Linked DNA regions of Homo sapiens: regions 2 and 3 are each linked to region 1. Evidence: promoter capture Hi-C in human tissues and cell types (Jung and others, 2019). All regions are on one chromosome and are shown on one strand. Each heading gives the region's core, a stretch centred on a gene start or on the middle of the fragment in contact. The rest is flanking DNA. Distances are from core to core; before and after follow the strand shown.

Region 1 (3,542 bases), core at 583-3,082:
TTCGCTGGAGGTGGGGACGATTGCAGCGCAGTTCAGCCCTCGTCCTGCCTCAGGACCTTCGCCTTAGCAAGAAAGTGAACTAGGAAGAAGAGAGTCCCGTGGACCCCAGGCAAGCTGGGGTCCCCCTCCCTCTCCCGCACAAAGCCCCTCCTGGCTGCGCCTGGGGTCAGTGTCAGGCAGGGCTGGCCAGACCCCGCAGATGGGCGCTGAGGATTTTCGGGGTGGGCCGGGGGACGCCGGCTCGAGCTGCTTCCCCCTACTCCCGGCTGCCAGTTGAAAGGAAAAGGCAACTATTTGCGGTGCAGGTGTGACCAGAAGTGGCTGAGGCACGGCAGCGATGACAGTGAGTAGCGGCGACGACACAGGCCGCGCCGGAACTTGCCGCTCGCGCGGGGCCGCAAAGGACCCGGGGGCTACCCCGTGCCTCCGGCTCCCGGCTCCGGGAAAGACCTTCTGTTCTCTGCCGGCGCGGAGGGCCGCAGGAACCAGGCCTCTCGCCTCCCCACCAGCTAGGCAGGGAGCGCCCATCTCCTGAAAAATTACTTCCTGGGAAGCGGTGCGGGGAGACAGCTTCAATTGCTTTCGGTTGGTGAAAAACGAATTCGCTTCTCAGATTGCTCTCCTAGCTGCCAGGCTCTGACGTTGAGAGGCCGGCTTTCAGCCTCGCGGTGAGCCCCCGCCTTGCCCCAGCCCCTTCCTCTTTACTCCTATCCTGTTTCCACAACCAGGGCAGCCGGACACTGCTGGGTTGGGTGCAGTTTCCTTTCCCTCCCTGCCTTTCTGCACCTACCTGGCGCCCCTAGATGCCTGCCCTTCCTTAACGAAGCGCGGGAAGTGAGGGGCTCCGGGGCTCCGAAGGCGATCTGGGGCCTGGGTCCGAGGCACCCATGTCCCTACTCGGCTTCCTCGATGTGCACTACCAAGGAGTCCTGGGTTCCCGGATCCCCTGCTGGAGGAGGATCTGTAGTGTCCGAAGCCCTGAGCAGGACTCAGCCTCGGCTCTCTAAGGATGGCGCTGGGAGCGCGGGCTCCTGGGGCGAAGATGGGCTCAGCGAACAGGGAAGGAAGGAGTGTACACTCCCAGGAGAGCTGGGTGGGAAAGATGCTTCAAACTGGACTAGAGAAGCACTGCTGTGAGGGATGGGCTCGGTAGCTCCCTGATGTAGTTTAGTCCGACCCGGGATAATCCAAGGCGCCGGGAACAGAGAGAAGGCTCCTGGGAGCGCTTGGAGGTAAGGCGGCCGGGTGAGAACCGGAAAGGAGAAAGGGGTGGGGAGCCAGGCTTACCTGCCCACTGGCCTTTCCACGCGTGAGCTTTGGTAGACTTCATCCATGGGAAAGGCAGCTGGACGCGGTTGGGCTCCTCCAGGACGCCCGGCTCGGCTCCCTCCGGGAAGGGCCCGGCGGGCGGGTGGGGGAGCGCGAGCTGAGCCGGGAGGTGGTGGTGAAGGTGCGCCACCGCGGGGTCGTCGGCGAGGGGGGGCACCTCGTACGGGGAGATGTCCGGGGGGCTGCCCTGCTCCAGCGCGCCCAGGGCGCCAGGGAACGGGTGCGGCGGCGGCGGCGGGGGCTGGCGGCCCATGTACAGGCACGCAGGGGGGCTGGCGCTGAACTCCGGCGCCGGGCCTCGCTGGAACGCGCATGGGTCCTTGTAAAGCTGCGTGGCCGCGTAGTACTGCTCCTCGCCGTTCATGGCTGCGGCCCGGGATTGGGCACCGGGAGCCGGGAGCCGGGAGCCGGGAGTCGGGAGCTGGAGCCGGGGATTTGGCACTGTGTGGCGTTCCCACTCCCGGCGCCACCCCTGCTCGCTTTGACAGCTCCGCACTGATCTCAGAGGGAACCCACAGCCAGCGCGGACCGGCGGGCCGGCCGCCGCACCATAGGCTCCGCGGGGCCCCACGTGGTTCAGCCGGGGGCCGTGATTGGCCTGGCTGGCCGCACTAAGAGGCTAGGCCCAGGTACCCGCGAGCACCTGCTTTTGTTCCAATTTTCTCTCTCAGCTGAGTTTGCTGCACACTCCTGAACGGGCAGCTGGCGGTGCTCCCCAAAATGGGCGCTCACGAAAACATTAGAACCACTCATTTATAGAAACATTTTCACCGTGGCTTAAAAGTTTCTATTTTCCTATATTTTTCTATTTTCTATTTTCCTATATTTTTTCTATTATATTTGATAATGGACATAGTGTGTTTGTTAATTGATGTAGTTTACAAGGAGACATGTTGAGTTTTTAATTTTTTATTTAACTGTTGCGGAATACGATAAAAAAAAAGTTTGCAGACCCAGCTCTCTAGGTCAGAAGCATTTGATTCTATTTTATTTATGAAGTTTGTTCACAGCCACAAAGATGTCGGTTAAAAAACACACGAAACTCTGGCATTCGTTGTGTGTTTTTACTTGTGGATGTGCTGCAAGTACTTCTGGGGTGTAAACGGTAACTTCTGAAGCATTCACAGAGACTTTTTTAAATTCTTTTTTTTAAAAAATTGAAGGGTATTACAAATTTGGGTTTTGGAAAATTGGGGCCCATTTGGCCAGCCCGGAACGTAGCTTCCCAATACAGCGAGGGGGAAAGACGCGGCCTTCCTCTTGGGGCTGCGAAGCAGGGGCAGGTGTTGGCACGGGGGTTCCAGACCCTTGACGACTCTCTACGGGCCGGGACCCTGGCGGAGTTTGCCGGCAGAGAACACTCACTCTCTTCTGCTTGCAATTGAAATAAGGCAAGCAGGAGAGGGGGAAGTGGAGGAAGAGTTACATATTTAGAAAAAGAAATAAAAACGCTGCATTTTCCATGATAACATCTGTGCTTGGCTTCAAACCATTCAGTAACTTCTGGGCATTCTGGGGTCCTGACTTAAACAGGGCCACTTTTTCTGCACCCACTGACGCGGATGGATGACCTCCGGGTGGCGGTGACGTCCAACCCCCTGCCTGGGCATGATCCGCTAGGCCTGGCGGCCTGACCAGCCTCTGACTGGATACTCCCGAAATGAGGACGTTTCTCGAAACGCCACCGTGGGTTTTAGAAAAACTAGACAGCTTTGCAGAAACGTCTCAGCAAGAGAGAGCTTGAACCACAAAGAACCAAGCCAGAGAAAAATCACTGCTCCGCCTTTCCTAAACAACGCACCAACATCCAGACCTTTGAGAGTCAATCTTAATGTATTTCTTTCTTCCTACTGGAAATATTTGTGTTTTAAGTGCGGATTGAGTGCTCTATTCTGAGGACTCTTTATTTTTATTAAAAGACAAAAAAGCCAGTCGGGAATGTGGACTTCTCTGCAGATTCCTTCTCTTGCGGGAGGCCGGTATAGTCTCAGCATTTGCTTCGATGTGTGAGAACTCATGTGTGTGGCTTCCTGGCCTGTGGCCTCATGTGTGTGGCTCTGATGTGTGGCTCCCTGGCTTGTAGATGCCCTTGCTGTCACCGAAGACAGGCCAAGGGAAGCACGGCGGCGGGCGGGGAGAGTTTCGGTGATTTCTTCAGGGAAAAGTGCCACCTGCAGTTTTGGTGGGGGCAGAGAGTGAAAGGCCGTGGGGCC
Region 2 (3,542 bases), core at 297-2,796, 480 kb after region 1:
GTAGATGGTTTTTCTCCGATTTATAGGGTTCTCTGTTGTGTATGATGGAAAAAACCGTATCCCAGTTAGATTTTTCATTTTGCCTTTTTTTCTTAATGAGTTCCATCCCCTATCCTGAGATCACAAACCATTCTGTCTTTTCTTCTGTTTGTTTTAAAGTTGTATTTTTCACCTGTAGAACATTAGTATACCTGGGGAGACCTAACTTTTTGTCATCTATAAACTTCTCAATTGTCCCAACACCTTTATTGAGTGGCCGGTTCCTTCTCTATAATTTTCCAGTAGGCAGGATTTCTGGAGACAGAGGGCATGAACACAGGATGTAGGGACCCTTACCTGTCCAACAGTCTGGCTGACCCCTTATAGCAAGGAGAGCATCTCAAAAGGAGTGGGTAGTGCACTCCCAGATGCCAACCCACAGCTGATAGATAAGGATGTTAAGTGCACCATGAAGCCAAACTTGATCCTTTAAACGACTATCTTTTGGTGTTCTTTCAACAAACGATGGTTAACAATAAATGGAAGCATTTCAGATTTTAAGTACCCTTCCAGGGCAGGTAAAAAATTGGTACCTTTATGTGTATCTTCCCCATTTGAAAAGACATTTACTGGTCTGTGAAACTGAAAGCCAGATGAGAAGATTGTCAGGTGGCAACCTAGGATTTTATGATGGGCATGTTGGGAAGTTCAGGGTTCACAGTGGACTAGTCAGTAGTCCTTGCACCCTATCTGTTTCAAACCAGGACCAACCCTGAGAAAGGAACTGATTTTGTCTTCAAATATTGGACAACATGATTTGGACACAAAGACTAAACAGATTCAGCAGTGGATTAAGAAAAAACACCTAGTCCAGATTACCATAAAGAAAGGAAAAAATGTAGACGTGTCAGAAAATGAAATGGTAAGTAAAGAAGGTACAAGCCACTGCTTGTGCTTTGGGTCTTCTGATCTAAAAATACAATTGTAGGCCAGGCGCGGTGGCTCACGCCTGTAATCCCAGCATTTTGGGAGGCCAAGGTGGGCGGATCACGAGATCAGGAGATTGAGACCAACCTGGCTAACATGGTGAAACCCCGTCTCTACTAAAAATACAAAAAATTAGCCAGGCGTGGTGGCGGGCACCTGTAGTCCCAGCTACTGGGGAAGCTGAGGCAGGAGAATGGCGTGAACCCGGGAGGCGGAGCTTGCAGTGAGCCGAGATCGCGCCACTGCACTCCAGCCTGGGTGACAGAGCAAGACTCCGTCTCAAAAAAAAAAAAAAAAAAAAAAAATTGTAGAAAATCTGAAATATAAAGACAAAGTGACTGGTAATTCTTCCACCCAGTGATGTTAACAGCTTTCTAGTTTGCTTTTCAAAACTAAGCATACTGTAGATATAGTTTCCATTACAGCGTATTTTGCCATATGAACACATTATTCCTTAAAAGCAATATACTATTGTTTTATAAATTGTAGAATAACCCTTAAACAGGAAAATTAGAAACTTTATAGATTTTTTGTTTCTTCTTTGTACTTATAGGGGCATTAATTACGTAGACTGTCTTCTAGAAAGTGTGTAGTTTCCAATCCCATAAGTTTATGGAATACCTATTTTGCTTTTTTTTTTTAAAAGTTAGATAACTTTATCATCCACTAAGGGTATCCTTAGTAATCCAGCTCCACAGTAGAGTCACTTAAGCATAGGTCGCAACCCAGCTGATGCAGAATTTCTTGAGCCCAGGTATCCATTTGTTTCAGTCACTGAGAGAGACTCTGTTAGGGGCAATAGAGAGTGCTGAGAACTGCTCGGCTGACACCTTGGGGATGAGGAGGTATTTTGCCAATGCCCAAACCCAGTGCTTTCTGTTTGTGGGAGAGGGTAATGCTGAGCCAAACGTAGCCTCTTCGTGCCATGACGAAGTGGAGATTTAAAATTAGGAAGCATTCAGCATGTCAGTTTAGTTACATGGTGTTATTGTACAGATTTCAGTCAACTTAACCAGATACGTATGAACTGATTAGCTAATCACTTAACCGACAGCAGCAATTCAAGGGTGCCAGTTTTTGTGAATGTTCAAGCAGAACATTAGAAAGCACCAAAGCCTCTGATTTTAAATTAATCTTTGGCTGTTTCCCTTTTTTAGGAGGAGATATTTCATCAAATACTCCAGACTATGCCTGGAATAGCTACATTCTCATCTAGGCCACAAGCTGTTCAAGGAGGAAAAGCTTTAATGTGTGTTCTTCGTGCTTTCAGCAAAAATGAGGAGAAGGCATATAAAGAAACTCAAGAGACCCAGGAAAGAGACACTTTGAACAAAGACCATGGAAATGATAAGGAATCAAATGTTCTGCATCAGTAATTTTAATAAAGAAAAGCATGCTCTGAGAGAAAGCTCGCTCCTTGGTCTGCAGTCCTTTAAACAAAGCAGTGCAGTTCTTAGCCAAGGGTAAGTACTGCAACTGTCGAGAGCATCTTGTCTTCCACACAGTTGGGTGACTCTCCGTTTTGACACAAAGATAAGCCTTGCCCTTGTTTCCTTTTGGGAGGGATATATCCACTGAGATGAGAGGCCAAACTCCGTTTTTCACGAGATTTTTTGACCTTTGGGAATAAGGAAGACACACGATTAGAATTCAAAATCAAAACTGTCTGAGTTAATTTTACGATAGTCATATGTACCAGCAGATATAGTGTACAACATTGCTTTATGAGGAAGTAAAGTCTTCAACAGTAGTGCAGACTCAAACAGTAAAGCAGGTGAAAAGAATTCCAAACAGACTCCTTCTGGCCTTAAACAATTTCCACTTGAAAACTAAGCTTGCCTAAGTAGTTTCAACTTACTTTGAGCTTCATTTTCTTCTTGTCAGGATCATGTACAACAGCATGCCTAGTGAGACTTTGCTACAATGAAAGAGAAAGTTATTAATGAAATATTAATATGAAAACCATGTTGTGAAAGCATAGACTATAGGACCATGAGTATGAGGGTGAGTGCTTACTTTCATTGCAAATGTTTTGCCACAGCCAGCATGTTCACACACAAAAGGGCGGCTTTCCTCATGGAAGGAGAGGATATGGCTTTGGAGATTAAACACAGTTGTATAGGTTCTTCCACAGCCTTCTCTTGGACAGCGACATACATCCCTTTCTGGGGCATGAGTTTTCATGTGTTGCTTAAGGTAATCTTTGCGTTTAAATGTTTTCCGGCATACTTCACATAGTATTTCCTCTGGTGGGACAGACAGACAAATTTCACAAATTTCCCCAGATATTACCATTTAGAAAAAATTAATACCTAATATATAAGTAACATTCAGTGCCTGAAACCTGATCACTATATACAAATCAGAAATTCCCAAGGAAACAACCCCAGTTTTTATCACCTAGGAAGTTTGTCTCAATTCTCTGAAGTTCTTAAATGCCACACAGTCATTGTTCACTTGCCAAGAGGCAGGGCTCTCAGGAAGGTGACTGTGGGGAGGTACAGAAAATGAAGCAGACCAGTGTCCTTCCTTGTCCCCCAGTATGCAGGGTACTGTTTCCCAGGCGGTCCCACAGA
Region 3 (3,542 bases), core at 402-2,901, 300 kb after region 1:
ATTTGGGAAATGATTGTCGTACCTGTTGAGTAGGGTTTGAGGAATTATGCATGTAATGCCTTTGGCAGGGTACCTAGCACATTCCAAGTGCTCAGTAAATATTAGTTGTTCCTTTAGATGATGACATTAATGAGCTAGTGGAATGTTGGAGGATATGAGAAGGAGCAGTTAAAAACAATTGATGGTAGAGGTGTAGAAGGGAAGATAAGTTCAGTTTTGGACTAATCTAAGGAGGTGCTAAATGGATGGTTGAGAGATCCATGATGCAGTTGTTGGATAGTTGTGTCTCACAGGAGCTAGGAAAGAATAGAAAAGAAAAAGAGTTCACAGAAAGGCTTTATGAGTATGGTAAGCTTTATGAGAGATTTAGAGGAAGGGGAGGGTGAAGGGGTTCACAGTGGAGCGATATCAGAAGTGTTGACATTGAATATTAGGCATTTCTATCCTTAAAATATATTTTGGCCACCATCAAAGAAAGGAGGACTCCAGGCTCTTGTAATCTGGTTGGCTCTTTGGCCTTCTTCCCCTCTTCTTTCTTTCCTTTACAATTGCCACCCGATATCTTTAAATTGTATTATGAGGAACTATTTAACTTTCCTTCCTGCTTACAGGGCTAGAGTTCACAGGCCCACCTTCCTCTATCCAAATGCATCTAGGTTTTTAAAAAAGAATCACAGGTCTCATTTCATAGGTTCTCCTCTATTTAGGAAGCAGTGTTGTTTGAAAAAGTAATACATATGTATCTTGCATGTAGAATTAGAAGACTGGGGCAGGCCTACCTAAATTGACCCTGTAGGAGGGCCTGAGAGTCTTACAAAAGACATCCCTTTTAGCTTTCCTGGCACCTGTTTCTTTTCCTCAGAAAATACAAAGCAGTAGGAAAATCTGTGGTTAATAAGTTATTTTGTTTGGTTGGATTCAGAAAAGGTGGCTATTTTGTGTATTAGCCTTCTAAGAAGTTATTAAGAGGAATTTTTTGGCCAGGTGCAGTGACTCACGCTTATAATTCTAGCACTTTGGGAGGCTGAGGCGGGCGATCACGAGGTCAGGAGTTCAAGACCAGCCTGGCCAACACAGTGAAACCCTGTCTCTACTAAAAATACGAAAATTAGCTGGGCGTGGTGGCAGGTGCCTGTAATCCCAGCTACTCAGGAGGCTGAGGCAGGAGAAATCGCTTGAACCCGGGAGCTAGAGGTTTCAGTGAGCTGAGATTGCGCCACTGCGCTCCAGCCTGGGTGATAGAGCTAGACTCCATCTCAAAAAAGGAATTTTTTAACAAGCAAGTGCTCATGACATTACAATAATAAATTGTCCTCTAGTTAGTATGCTTTTAAAGAAGCAGGTGTTGTAGGTTCTATCCTTTAGAATGTGTGCTTCCTAGAGCTGGGATCCTATCTATTTTGCTAACTGCAGAATCCCTAAGTACTTAAACAAATATTAATGTATTGTAAACCAAAAATAAAATTCTAAGCTTCCCCCTCTCCCCAGCCATCTGAATGGACTTCCTCCTCATCCAGGGGTCTTTTAAAATTTAACCTGAGAGACAGTTTCAGGCCATGAGTGGGAAGTGGAGGTCGGACATGACTTGTTATACCTCTCTGACATTAACATTAACATAGACTTTAAGTCCGATAAGAAACGTTTTACTACCACCTATCGAAGCCTACTACCTGAAGGCTTCCTCTGAAAGTAAGAACTTGGGTCTCCACAATCCTTTGTCTTAACCCAGACATTCCTTTCTGTTGATCCCAGGGCTTTAGACAAACTCAACCGACTGTCAACCAGAAAATGTTTAAATTTACCTATGGCTTGGAATGGCACTCCCTGCTACCCCCCCCAACCCCCCACCCCACCCCCGACCCCCTGCAATTGTCCCACCTTTCTGGACCAAACCAATGTATTTCTTAAAATTTTTTGATTGATGTCTCATGCCTCCCTAAAATGTATAAAACCAAGCTGCACCCCTACCATCTTGGGCACATGTTCTTAGGACCTCCTGAAGGCTGTGTCATGGGCCATGGTCACTCAGATTTGGCTCACGATAAATCTCTTCAAATATGTTGCAGAGTTTGACTCTTTTTGTTGACAGCATGCATTAATGAACAAATTGGATCCAAATTGGCTTTGATCTGGCTTGGCTCACAGACTTCTCCAAATCTTTGAAACAGTCATTGGTCAGAGGGAAAGCAAAAGAGAATTGATCCAGTGAGGAAGCTTGAACTGTTCCCTGTTCTTATAGGAATATAGAAGAACTGCAACATTGATGGCTTATGATTAAGCTTCTGTGATGTTGTGAAATATATATATGGTCTTTATCCCTGTTTCCTGGCATACAACTCTCAAATTCCTTGGAATCTGCAAAGCGCTAAGTGTCTTTGTATGCTGATGAGTTGACTGAACAGCTGGCAGCCCCTAGGTAGCTTCAGGATGGGCCCTGGGCACTGGAAAGGCTGGATTAGAGGGTTAGGACTGTCAGCCCCACCACCACCCTCCAGGGAGGGCAGAGGAGCTGAAGGGTAAGCTGATCACCAATGGCCAATGATTTAACCAACCATACCTATGTTATGAAGTCTTCATAAAAGGCCCAAGAGGACAGGGTTCAGAGAGCTTCTGGACAGCTGATCACATGGAGGTTCCTGGAGGGTAACACGCCCCAGAGAGGGCATGGACGCTCCGCACCCCTTCCCCGTACCTCGCCCTGTGCATCTCTTCATCTATATCCTTTGTAATATCTTTTATAATAAACTGGTAAACCTAAGTAAGTGTATCCCTGAGTTCTGTGAGCTGCTCTAGCAAGTTAATTGAACCCAAAGAGGGGTTATGGGAACCCCAAATTGAGGCCAGTCAGTTAGAATTTTCTGAGGCCTGCACTTGCGACTGGTGTCTGGTGGAGAGGGGAGCGGTCTTGGAGACTGAGCCCTCAGCTTTGGGATCTGGGGTTATCTCCAGGTCAGAATTGAATTGAACTAGAGGACACTCAGCTGGTGTCCACTGCTTTGTGTACTGGGGTGTCGGGGGGAGCCCACATTTGGACATAGAAGTATTCTGTGTTGATGACTGTTGTGTTGAATAAGAGAATAGAAAAAAACACTCCTGAGTGTGTTTTTATTTCCTCTCAGTTTCCAAGGCTCTGTTGTCTATCACTTTGTTTTATAGATAAAAGTAAGGTAAGTCTGGGAAATATTTATACCTGCCACCCCCTTCCCCGTTGGGATTTCGGCTACTAATCTTAAAGACTTAATCGTTTATGAGAACCCTTATCATTTAGACCAATAAATAATTACTGAACCCATAAATTGGAGACCTTTACTTAAATCTTATTTCAGTTTTGTGACTTTTTCTTCTTTAGCTGCCCAATGGGTTCTTCCTGCCTACTGCCCAGATAGAGCCAATTTATCAAGGCAGGGAATTGCAATAGAGAAAGAGTTTTTACACACATAGATCTTGCGGAACAGAAGACTGGAATTTTATTATTACCCAGATCAGCCTACCTGAGCATTTGGGGGCTATTTTCAAAGGTAGTCTGGGGGAAGGGGTGGGAG

The links. The method cuts DNA at HindIII sites, captures the fragments that hold promoters and counts their contacts. A contact is called where the count stands out against the background at its distance.
Region 2: a contact is called between a fragment that was not itself captured here and the fragment with the promoter of PDX1 in region 1, in 1 of the 25 tissues and cell types used here (H1 embryonic stem cells).
Region 3: a contact is called between a fragment that was not itself captured here and the fragment with the promoter of PDX1 in region 1, in 1 of the 25 tissues and cell types used here (H1 embryonic stem cells).

The regions. Positions count from the first base shown.
Region 1 is chr13:27,918,290-27,921,831 of GRCh38, reverse strand. It overlaps PDX1 (pancreatic and duodenal homeobox 1), which reads right to left and starts at 1,832. Exons shown (of 2, transcript NM_000209.4): 1 at 1,288-1,832. The coding sequence starts at 1,693. The HindIII fragment of the contact is 14,480 bases long and covers 1-3,542 here.
Region 2 is chr13:27,434,475-27,438,016 of GRCh38, reverse strand. GTF3A (general transcription factor IIIA) reads right to left here. Exons shown (of 9, transcript NM_002097.3): 7 at 2,983-3,212; 8 at 2,825-2,884; 9 at 2,194-2,584. The coding sequence ends at 2,420. It overlaps MTIF3 (mitochondrial translational initiation factor 3), which reads left to right. Exons shown (of 5, transcript NM_152912.5): 4 at 744-901; 5 at 2,124-2,374. The coding sequence ends at 2,342. Among named protein-coding and RNA genes, the nearest start is that of GTF3A, 12 kb to the right of the region's middle. RefSeq lists an enhancer at 2,333-3,532. The HindIII fragment of the contact is 5,770 bases long and covers 1-3,542 here.
Region 3 is chr13:27,614,484-27,618,025 of GRCh38, reverse strand. The region is part of intron 1 of LNX2 (ligand of numb-protein X 2); the gene reads left to right. Among named protein-coding and RNA genes, the nearest start is that of LNX2, 4.3 kb to the left of the region's middle. The HindIII fragment of the contact is 4,182 bases long and covers 1-3,542 here.